Regions from separate parts of the Homo sapiens genome. Here regions 2 and 3 are each linked to region 1. Evidence: promoter capture Hi-C in 16 types of primary human blood cells and fetal thymus (Javierre and others, 2016). All regions are on one chromosome and are shown on one strand. Each heading gives the region's core, a stretch centred on a gene start or on the middle of the fragment in contact. The rest is flanking DNA. Distances are from core to core; before and after follow the strand shown. Region 1 holds the start of STRBP (spermatid perinuclear RNA binding protein). Region 2 overlaps STRBP (spermatid perinuclear RNA binding protein). Region 3 overlaps STRBP (spermatid perinuclear RNA binding protein).

Region 1 (4,133 bases), core at 791-3,290:
AAAAATCTTGGCCCCTTTCATCTCTCAAACTCAAAGTGTTCCAATCTCTCCCCATACTTCCACTCCTTGGATCTTCCATACTCTCTTAAGCAACCTGTGTTCCTAGCTCTCTCCAACTTAAGCAGTCATTTCCTGCCCTAAACCTGGGCATCCTATTTCCCCCACCACCACCACCACCACTCCAATCCATCACCTATGCCTTTCTAGTTACAGACATGTCCACATACACCTCTGCCTTGCCCTTCCCTTACTCCACTATAGGTATTAAGCATTCTTCTACATCCTCTACCCCAAAATAGCCTGTCTACCTTCCTTCTTTCTCCCTACCTCCCTTCTCCCTACAGCACAAAATTCAGTGCCCCAAACCTGTGCTTCCCTCCCTCCACCTACTGTACTCCAGACCTGTCCACCTTCCCCTCCAGTCTATCCCGTTGTCCCCCTCTACTGATTTCGTTCTCACCCTCCCCTCCACCTTCCTCCTCCCCAACCGCTCCACACTTCCCGCCTCAGAAATCTTTCCTTCCATTTGTCCCCACACTTTACCTGCCACTCCAAGAACACTTCCCTTTCCCCACCCCCTTTTGCCCTCCACCTCACACACTCCACGCCACCCCACACCTGTCCCTCTCCCCCAGCTCCTGCCCCTAACGTCCTCCAACACTTGCCAAGAACCCCTCACCCTCCGTCCTACCTCAAAATTCCCTCTCTTGCTGATCCCACCTTCTTCCATACTTCCTGCATAAACACCCTCCATTTCACGCACTTCTCCCGCTATCCTTTAAATGCCCCACACACCTCCTGCTCTCCATCCCCATCACCCTTCTCCTACTGTCCCCACCTCTCTCTGCAAGCCCTCAAACTAAGTCTCTGCCCCAATGAACTTCCCCCTTCCACCCCATACTCCTCTTCCCTGAGCACCAGATACCTGCCTTTTTATCCTTACATGTCAACCCCCTCCCGCCTCCCTGCAGGCTCCCCTATACACCTGGCCACACACTCCCTCACACCCCTCGCAGGTCTCCTGGAGCCCCTGGGCCTACCCTTCATTTCCCTATCACCCCAGAAGCCTAGGCACCCTGCTCCCCTCCCTCCCTTTCAGGCGCTCCCTGCCTGCCCTCACTTCCCCCTGCCCCGACCCCCTCCTCCATCGTTCCCCTTCACGGGCGTCCCGGTGGCCTTCCTAATACCCGCCCCACTCCCTGCCCCTGGCACGCAGCGCTCCTTCCAGTCCTGCTCGAGTCCCCAGTCTTCTCCCTCCATTCCCACCCCACTCGTCCCTGCCCTCCCCAAAAGCCCCCTCATTCCCTCTTGAACCCCACAATATAGTGCCCCCCCCCACCGGACGGAATGTCCTCCATCTCGCACTCGCCTGGCCCAGGGGGCCCCCCAAACCTGCCTGAAGGCTCTCCTCCTCCATTGGGCCGGATCCCTCTGCACCCCTATTTACCCCCAAATCTGCCCACACCTTCCGCCTGCCCCCCGAAGCCTCTCCCCAGCTCCTGCCCCCAATGTCCTCCAACACCTGCCCCGAGCCCCGAGCCCTCCGTCCCGGAAGACCTCCCGGCACCGCGTCCCCCAACCCTGCCCACGCCCTCCCCTGATCGGCCGGGACCCCGTCCCCGCGAAGGTGAGGAAGGCTGCCCGCTGCCCTTGCCCGAAGCGGCCGGGGCACCGCAGCGGCGGCGGCGGCGGCCACAATGCCGGAGCCGCGGGGCCGGGATTGCTCCCTGCTCTCCGCCTCGGCCGCCACCGCCGCCGCCGCTGCTAAGGACGCACAACAAACAATGCGGGGCCCGGGCCGGCTCCGCCAACCGCCTCAACCGCCGCCTTAACCGCCGCCCGCCCGGGACGGCCCGCCGCGCAGGCGCCCGCCCCGCCGCCGGAGCCTACCCGCGCCGCCGCGCTCTGCCCGCGCCCGGTACCCGCTCCCGCTCCGCCGCCGCCGCCACCTCGCCCGCTCGCGTCTCCGGCTCCTCTGCCCAGCGGCGGCGGCTGCGGCGGCTGCTGCCCTGGTGGCGCTCGCGGCTCCGGTCTCCGCTTCGGCGGCGGCAGCGGCGGCAGCGAGCACGTGACACCGTCGAGCGCGCCCATTGGCCAGGCCAGGGGGCGGGCCCCGCGGCTGCTGGGGAACGGAAAGCCCGCCCCCTCGTTCGCCGCGCGCCCCCTCCACGCGCGTCCTGCCGCACCTGAGAGCGCCGGCCAGCGCCCGCCGCCGCCTTGCTGTGCCGCCGCCTGCGCCAAGTGCGCACCTGGGAGCGCGCAGGGAGCACTCGCCGCCGGCGGCCTTATGCACCTGCCAGCGGACGCTTACGTAAACTGCGTCCCCGCCTTCCTCCCGGCCCCAGGCCCCCGCTCGCTGCAGCACCTGAGCCCCGCTGCGCTAGCGGCGTAACTGCGGCGGAGCGGAGACGAGCTGCGCTGGGAGGCTAGCGAAATGCACGGAAACTTCGTAACTTCCGAACCTGGGAGCTGCGCCGAGCCGCGGCGGCTAGCCGCCTTCCCCGGGCCCCGCACCCCAGTGCGGGATGCCCCCCAACCCCAGCAGCCACACAAATGGAGTAGGCGTCGCACTGCCTCCCGAGGTAGAGGGGCAGGCCAGTAGGCTTTGACTTGTGCCACCGCCCACCTACTTGCTGGCTGTGTGACCTTGGCCAAGTTACCAAGAACCGTTCTGAGCCTCAGTTTCCTCATCAGGAAAACTGGGACAATAATTCCAATTTAGGAGCTGTTGGGGAGATGGCATAAGACAATAGGTGTGAATCCTGGCACACAGCAGTCGCTGAACAGAAGCTGCTACAATCACCTCTCCTTCACCTGCCTATAATGAACCTCGCTGGGATTGAGTTTGGGCCCAGGACCTCTCTGACCTCCTTATGGTTGGGTCAGACTTTGGCTGAACACCTACCAGCTCTGTGCCAGGGGCGGCGCTGGGGAAGAATTAAAGGTTCGCTTTCTATTCTACAGTCCCTGGCCTCAAGTTCTTGGTGCCCAGCATTCTGCTTGCCAGTATACAGTCCCTGCTGTATACCGGGGGGTTTGCAGGCTGCAGGGATGCACTGGCAAATGAGACAATGTCTTTGCCCTAAGACAATTCCCAGCCTGGAGCAGAAACGACCTGACCACTCAGTGCCAAGACAGAGGACCTTGAACAGCCCAGGGGTTGAGGAGGGACTCCCCACAACAGCCCCCTTGGGGCCCCTTTTCATCTTTCTAACACACCAGGCTCAAATATTTTAACAGCTCTGTTTCATTCACAGAATAAAGTGTAAAAAACCCAATTTCAACTGAAAAGGCCTTGGTGATCTGGCCTTAAGCTTCAAGGTGCACGCCCTTCCCTTTGCCCCTCCTTCAGGCCAATGTGACCCTCCAGCCACACAGAACTACAGTACTGTTGTTTCCAGAGTATGCCCAGGTGTGTAGGAGCCTGAGTCTCCTGAGACAGATGCCAGGCCGCAAATCCCTTTCTAAACCCTCTCCCCACCTCTGACCACTCACACCTTCCTTGACCCTCCTGAAAAAAATCCTGGGTATCCTTATCAATCAGCTCAGAGTATATTCTCTGGAGATCCTTGGCTGCCTCAGACACATGGTCTAAGCTCCCTCGGCTTGAACATAGTCCTGTTAAGCTATATGTATTCTCATGGCACTAGATTGTAATTGTTTAGCTGTCTGTCTCCTCCCTGGTCTCTCAGTCCCTTGAGGACAGGGTCATCTTCCTGCCTAAGTGTGTTAGGGAAGACTACACGTGCACATGACATGAGATCATTAAAGCTGGGTTTTGTAGGATGCCCATAAGTATCAGAGGGAGAAGAGGCGCCACACTGTAAAGATCCAGATTCACTGCACACTAGCTGTGTGATCTTGGAAAATCAATCTCTCTAGTCTAAGTTTACTCATCTGCCAAGTGAGACTAATAGTATTGCATATTGTAGGGTTGTTAGAAGGATTCATTGCAACCGTATATCTAAGGCACTCAGCACGGTGTCCAGCACTTGGTTACATTTTTAATTTTTTTAAAATAGAAGAACAGCATGGCATTAAGGATTCAATAGTATTTCTTGTTTCAATATCTTTATTGGGTTTGTAACTCCAAACACTGAGACAAAAGCATGCAAATTATATAAAAGGAAAGA
Region 2 (3,705 bases), core at 31-2,530, 68 kb before region 1:
ATGTGCCTACTTTTATACCAGCACCATATACTGTTTTGGTAACTGTATCCTCGTAGTACAGTTTGAAGTCCAGTAATGTGATGCCTCCAGATTTGTTATTTTTGCTTAGAATGGCTTTGACTACGCAGGCTCTTTTTTGGTTCCACACGAATTTTAGGATTGTTTTTTCTAATTCTGTGAAAAATGATGTTGGTATTTTGATGGGAAGTGCATTGAATCTGTAGATTGCTTTGGGCAGTATAGTCATTTTCACAATATTGATTCTTCCAATCCATGGGCATAGGATGTGTTTCCATTTGTTTGTATCATCTACAGTTTCTTTCAGCAGTGCTTTGTAGTTCTCCTTGTAGAGATCTTTCACCTCCTTGGTTAGGTATATTCCTAGTTATTTTATTTTATTTGCAGATGTTATAAAAGGGACTGAGTTCTTGATTTGATTCTAAGCTTGATCATTGCTGGTGTATAGCAGTGCTATCGATTTGTGTACACTGATATTACAAACTGAGAGTTTACTGAATTTGTTTATCAAATCTAAGAGTCTTTATGACTTTCTAGCCATACAATCATATCATCTGCAAACAGCAATAATTTGACTCTCTCCTTTCCAATTTGGATACCCTTTATTTCTTTCTCTTGCCTAACTGATCTGGCTAGTACTTCCAGAACTATGTTTAATAGGAGTGGTGAAAGTGGGCATCCTTGTCTTGTTCCTGCTCTCGGGGAAATGCTTTCAACTTTTCCCCATTCCGTATGATGTTGGCTGTGCGTTAGTCATAGACGGCTTTTATTATTTTAAGGTAGGTCCCTTCCATGCCTACTCTCAACAGTTTGTTGACAGTTTTTATCATAAAGTGTGCTGGATTTTGTCAAATGCTTTTTCTGCATCTATTGAGATGATCATATGGCTTTTGTTTTTAATTGTTTATGTGCTGTATCACATTTACTGACTTGCATATTTTAAACTACTCCTACTAGACAAGTTTCTTGAAAACAGCAGATACTTCGATTCTGTACCCATTCTGCCATGAAACCCACTTGATCATGATCAATTATCTTTTTGATGTGTTGTTGAATTCAGTTAGCTAATATTTTGTTGAGGATTTTTGCATCTATGTTCATCACAAAAATTGCTCTGCAGTTTTCTTCTTTTGTTGTGTCCTTTCCTAGTTTTCTAATTAGGGTGATACTGGTTTCACAGAATGATCTAGGGAGGATTCCTTCTCTCAATCTTTTGGAATAGTTTCAGTAGGATTGGTACCAAGTCTCTGAATGTCTGGTAGAATTCAGCTGTGAATTCATCTGATCCTGGGCTTTTTCTGTTGGCAATTTTTTTGTCTTTTTTTTTTTTTTTGAGACGGAATCTCACTCTGTCACCCAGGCTAGAGTGCAGTGGCGCGAACTCGGCTCACTGCAAGCTCCGCCTCCTGGGTTCACCCTATTCTCCTGTCTCAGCCTCCCGAGTAGCTGGGACTACAGGCGCCCCGCCACACACCCCGCTAATTTTTTTTTTTTTTTTTTTTTTTTTTTTAGTAGAGACCAGGTTTCACCATGTTAGCCAGGATGGTCTCGATGTCCTGACCTCATGAGCCGCCCGCCTCGGCCTCCCAACATGCTGGGATTACAGGCATGAGCCACCATGCCTGGCTGGCAATTTTTTAATTACTGATTTAATCTCACTGCTTGTTATTGGTCTGTTCAAGGTTTTATTTCTTCCTGATTTAATCTAGGAAGGTTGTACGTTTCCAGGAATTTGACCATTTCCTCTGGCTTTTCTAGTTTGTGCACATAAAGGTGTTAATAGTAGTCTGGAATGATCTTTTGTATTTCTGTGGTGTCAAGTGCAATGTCACCAGTTTCATTTCTAATTGAGCTTATTTGGGCCTTCTCTCTTCTTGATTAATCTAGCTCATGGTCTATCAATTTTATTTTTTCGAAGCGACAGCATATTTCACTGATCTTTTGTATTTTTTTGTGTGTGTTTGAATTTCATTTAGTTCTGCTCTGATCTTTGTTACTTCTTCTTCTAGCTTTTTGTTCCTGTTTCTCCAGTTCCTTGAGGTGTGACATTAGGTTGTCAATTTGTGCTCTGAAATTCTGATGTAGGCATTTAGTGCTATAAGCTTTCCCTCAGCACTGCTTTTGCTGTATCCCAAAGGTTTTGATAACTTGTCTCATTATTATCATTCATTTCAAAGAATTTTAAAATTTCCATCTTGGTTTCATTGTTAACCCAGATATCATTCAGGAGCAGAATATTTAATTTCCATGTATTTGTACAGTTTTGAGAGTTCCTTTTTGACTAGTACTTCCAGAACAGTACTTCTTTGACTAGTACAAACTAGAGTTGATTTCTAGTTTTATGCCGCTGTGGTCTGCAGGGATACTGGATATAATTTCGATTTTTTAAAATTTATTGAGACTTGCTTTGTGGCCTATCATATAATCTATCTTGGACAATGTTCCATGTGCTGATAAAAATGTATATTCTGCAGATCTTAGGTAGAATGTTCTCTAAATATCAGTCCATTTGTTCTAGCATTTCGTTTAAGTCCACTGTTTCTCAGTTGACTTTTAGTCTCAAAGATCTGTCTAGTGCTGTCAGTGGTGTACTGAAATCTACCACTGCTATTGTTTTGCTGTCTATCTCATTTCTTAGGTCTAGCAGTAATCGTTTTACAAATCTGGGAGTTCCAGTGTTAGGTGCGTATAACTTTAGAATTGTAATATCTTGTTGAATTGATTGTTTTATTATTATATAGTGACTATATTTGCCTTTACTGTTGTTGAAGTTTGTTTTGTCTAAGAATAGCTACTCCTGTTTGCTTTTGGTTTCCATTTATGTAGAATACCTTTTTCCACTTTTCTGAGTTTACAGGACTCCTTCTCTGTTAGGTGAGTTTCTTGAAGACAGCAGATATTTGGATTCTGTATCCATTCTGCCATTCTGTATGTTAGGTGGAGCTAGTTTAGGCCACTGACATTCAATGCTAATATTGAGATGTGAAGTATCATTCTCTTCCTCATGTTGTTACCTAGTTTGTTTGTTTGCTTTTTTCATTGTATAATTGTTTTACAGATCCTGTGGGTTTTAAGCTTTCCACTTTGGTGTATATCAGGCTTTTGTTTCAAGGTTTATAACTCCTTTTAGCATTTCTTGTAGTGCTGGTTTGGTAGGGACAAATTCCCCTGGCATTTGTTTAAAATGACTTTATTTCTCCTTCATTTACAAAACTTAGTTTTGTGGGATAAAAAATTCTTGGCTGACAGTTGTTCTGTTTAAAGAGGTTGAAGACAGGACCCTAATCTCTTTTGGCTTGTAAGGTTTCTGCTGAGAAGTCTGCTGTTACTTTGATAGGTTTTCCTTTGTAGGTTATCTGATGCTTTTGTCTTACTGGCTTTAGAATTCTTTCCTTCATCAGTTAACAAAAATTTACTGTACATTTAAAAATAGATAAAAGAGTATAACTGGAATGTCTGTTACACAAAGAAATGAAAAATGCTTAAAGTGATAGATGCCCCATTTACCCTAATGTGATTGTTATCCATTGTATGCCTATCAGAACATCACACCTACTCCATAAATATATACACCTACTATCTACCCTTAAAAAACTGAAAATTAAAATTTAAAAATCTAAAAAATAAAAATAAAATAAAATCTGATGACTTTTAACCACGTCCACCATAACCAACCTGGTCAGAGCA
Region 3 (3,840 bases), core at 592-3,091, 85 kb before region 1:
ATGAAGAAACCTCGTCTCTACTAAAAATATAAATTTAGCCAGGCATGGTGGTTGGTGCATGCCTGTAATCCCAGCTACTTGGGAGGCTGAGGCAGGAGAATTGCTTGAACCCAGGAGGCGGAGGTTGCAGTGAGCTGAGATCACACAATTGCACTCCAGCCTCAGCAACAAGAGCAAAACTTCGTCTCAAAAAAAAAAAAAAAAAAAAAAAAAAAAAAAAAAAAGAAACAGTAACAGGAAAAATTGAAGAAATGCAGAGAAATCTTATTTACTCAAATAAGCTCTAAACAGATTTTCTTTAAGTATTGAAAAAATAAATCAGACTGGGCACAGTGGCTCACGCCTGTAATCCCAACACTTTGGCTCACGAGGAGGGTGGATCATCAGAGGTCAGGAGTTCAAGACCAGCCTGGCCAACATGGTGAAACCCTATCTCTACTAAAAATACAAAAATTAGCCAGGTATGGTGGTACACCCCTACAGTCCCAGCTACTCAGGAGGCTGAGGCAGAAGAATTACTTGAACCCGGGACACAGAGGTTGCAGTGAGCTGAGATCGTGCCATTGCACTCCAGCCTGGGCAACAGAGTGAGACTCCGTTTCTTTAAAAAAAAAAAAAAAAAAAAAAAAAAAAAAAGACAAAAAATTAAATCAGAAGAACCATGCAGAAAGAGAAAATTCTCATTGCAATCTGAGATCTAAAAAGCAAGTAATAAGAGAAACCAGAAAATACTCATCAATTAAATTATATAAAAACACAAAATTTATACACCAGAAAATCTAAGCTGAATTTAAAAAGAATAAACTAAGGAAGACATCTTCATCCACTCTGAAAAATAATAAAGCATTTCTTTTAGTTGTAAGAATATCAAGACTATAAGAAATGAGCGGAATGAGAGGTAAATAATTCACATGGTAAGATATAAAAGAATCAGTGTGGTTTTTTCACATTTCACCACATAACTAAAATGACAGGGAAAATCCCAAGTTAACATTTGTTCCCACAATCTAGATCTAAAATATCAGAATTTCTTCTCTAAGGAGTCAGCTGATTAAGTTATAATCCTTGGCACAAATATTTTTAAAAGCAAGTAACATTTAAAGAAACATCACCAGGCTGGGCACGGTGCCTCACGCCTATAATCCCAGCACTTTGGAAGGCTAAGGCAGCAGCAGGGTTCCTTGAGCCAAGGCGTTCCAGACCAGCCTGGGCAACAAAGCAAAACCCTGTCTCTACAAAAAATTTAAAAATTTGCCAGATGTGGTGGCATGCGCCTATAAGGCCAAGCTACTTGGGAGGCTTGAGGCAGGAAGATCCTTTGAGCCCAAGGAGTTGGAGTTTGCAGTGAGCTATGATCATGTCACTGCACTCCAGCCTGGAGGACAGAGCAAGATCCTGTCTCAAAAAAAAAAAAAAAAAAAAAAAACAAAAAATCAAAAAAATCACCACCAACAGACCGGCTAAACAACATATTCCAAATAATCATACTGGTGATTAATATTTTCTGCTTTTTCTCTCACTGGTAATGTGTTTTTAAAATCTTGGCCAGGCACGGTGGCTGATGCTTGTAATCCCAGCACTTTGGGAGGCTGAGGTGGGTGGATCACCTGAGGTCAGTTTGAGACCAACCTGGCCAACATGGCGAAACCCCGTCTCTACTAAAAATAAAAAAAATTAGCTGGGTATGGTGGCGGGCACCTATAATCCCAGCTACTCGGGAGGCTAAGGCAGGGAGAATTGCTTGAACCTGGGAGACGGAGGTTGCAGTGAGCCGAGATTGCGCCATTGCATTCCAGCCCGGGCAACAGGGTGAGACTCCGTCTTTAAAAAAAAAAAAGAAACCTTTTCTCGCTTATACTTAGGAGAAAAAAAATTCATATAACACCCTCCAGAACTCATAATACTAAGGGAAAAAAAATCAGCACATTTTACCAATTAAAAGCCTAGGCACCAGAGACTATGAGCTCATCTAACATCACAAATTCAATTTAAGTCTGAACTCTTCCCAAAAAGCAAGGTTTCTTTGATTCTCAATTCAGTGCCCCTACTATACTCAGCACTTGACCCTATTATTTTAAAAGTATGAAAAAGAGGTGGCTTTTTCAGTTAAACATTCACACATATTATAAACTTCTACATCATTCATATCACTAATTAAAGGACTGGTTCAGAATTTTTAATTTCCACAAGAAAAAAAACTGAACTTAAAGTTAAAAACCTAGCTATTTGTATCAGTTTGCTAATGCCAGTTTTATTAGAAAATATTATTTATGAGCATTTCCTCCTTTGTTTTAATAATTCATGGCCTACAGGCTCATGAGGCCCTACCTTGTGGTTTACATAGCTTGTAGTAAATCTGAATTCATTCGCTTTGAATAGTAGAGTGCCATCTTTATATGACACACTAAAGCCAAAAATTAACACCACTGTTTTTCATTTGCCCTCACTGTTAACATTTCTAATTTTAAATTACTGGAGTCTTTTGTAACTAAATTATGAAAATATCCACAATAACCTACCATGGTTTTCTATAGTATTTTAGCTTCTTTTTCCGATCCTTTCCCCTCTTTCTTGTCGTCTTCACTAGACACTGTTTTGTGTAACAATACCTCCTCATAAGCCTGAGTCCCCTGACAGCTCAGCGTCAATATAGCAAATGTCTGAAGGCTTGTTCTCTGGAACACACCTGCAAGAGAAGAGGAAAACAACTTCAAAAATGCTTATTTACTATTAGCTTCCAATATGAGTGTGCAACCCATAAACATGTTCCTGATTAAAAAGAAATAAACTCAATAGAGGAAAATTCCCTCAGTTCAAACAAAAAGCTAACACATCTTTTGAAGGCCTGGGCCCAGGAGCCTAGGTGATATGGCCAGAAAAGTAAGCCTCCTGTAGCTACAATGTGGCAGCTGGCTGACTAGCACTCAATGAGATAAATACATTTGCAAAGAGATTCAGTCAAGAAGCACCACCTGAAAGAGTAATACTACCACTGATGGCAACAAGTTGCAGTTAACCATTAGATTTTCAATCAGAAATTGGCATTACTCAGACCCATCTGAAAATTCAGTAAAGACACCTGAAAATACAACAATACCAATGATTATTCCATGATGCTTTTACATTGGATACTGCCATTAAAGAGTACATGTTGGCACAATGTTTGTTCTTTAATTTTTTTCAGCCTAAAATTCAGAATGCTTTTTTGGCTCTACTTCCTAACTCCCAAAAGGCCCTATTTGTCCCTGGGCCTGTATGCACTGCTATGCCAGACTCCTGAATATTCACTAGATCCTGACTTCATTACCCCTGGATGTCCCTCACCAGATTTCCACAGTATTATTTCTATCCAGAGTCCTAATCATTGTTACTTATTTTGTTCCACCTTTATGAGATTTTATTCCAGACATAGTAAAAGTAAACTTTTCTGAGCACTGATGAAACACTTATATTATAAACCTAGCTACAAGAAAAGGAGAAAAAAATTAAAAAAAAAAACCAGAACATCAAAATACAGCACATGCTTTAACTATGTGGCTATAAGAGGACATAATTTACATACCATATATCGTATAAACTCACAAAGAAAATAACTTTCTCTTCATTTAAATATCTTTCCTTTAATAAGGAAACACCCTATTGTCAGTAACAGTTTCTTAATATTAGCAGTTAGGCCAAGTGAGGTGACTCATGCCTGTAATCCCAATGCTTTGGGAGGCCAAGACGGGAGGATTGCTTGAAGCCAGAAGTTCGAGACCAGACTGGGCAACAGAGCGATACCCTATCTCTTTAAAAAAATGATACTATTTAACAGAAGAGATTCTAATAAATGGGACTTAC

The links. Contacts are between HindIII fragments. The CHiCAGO score rates a contact against its expected background, and 5 or more counts as called.
Region 2: a contact is called between a fragment that was not itself captured here and the fragment with the promoter of STRBP in region 1, in 1 of 17 cell types (total B cells). The highest score is 5.5, in total B cells.
Region 3: a fragment that was not itself captured here is called in contact with the fragment with the promoter of STRBP in region 1 in 1 of 17 cell types (naive B cells); the score reaches 6.9 in naive B cells.

The regions. Positions count from the first base shown.
Region 1 is chr9:123,266,546-123,270,678 of GRCh38, forward strand. STRBP (spermatid perinuclear RNA binding protein) reads right to left here and starts at 2,041. Exons shown (of 19, transcript NM_018387.5): 1 at 1,891-2,041. RefSeq lists silencers at 1,767-1,816, 1,987-2,466 and an enhancer at 1,867-2,367. The HindIII fragment of the contact is 5,570 bases long and covers 1-3,312 here.
Region 2 is chr9:123,199,235-123,202,939 of GRCh38, forward strand. All of the region lies in intron 2 of STRBP (spermatid perinuclear RNA binding protein), which reads right to left. Among named protein-coding and RNA genes, the nearest start is that of STRBP, 67 kb to the right of the region's middle. The HindIII fragment of the contact is 1,676 bases long and covers 443-2,118 here.
Region 3 is chr9:123,181,613-123,185,452 of GRCh38, forward strand. It overlaps STRBP (spermatid perinuclear RNA binding protein), which reads right to left. Exons shown (of 19, transcript NM_018387.5): 3 at 2,520-2,686. The coding sequence starts at 2,522. Among named protein-coding and RNA genes, the nearest start is that of MIR600HG, 68 kb to the left of the region's middle. The HindIII fragment of the contact is 4,656 bases long and covers 1-3,840 here.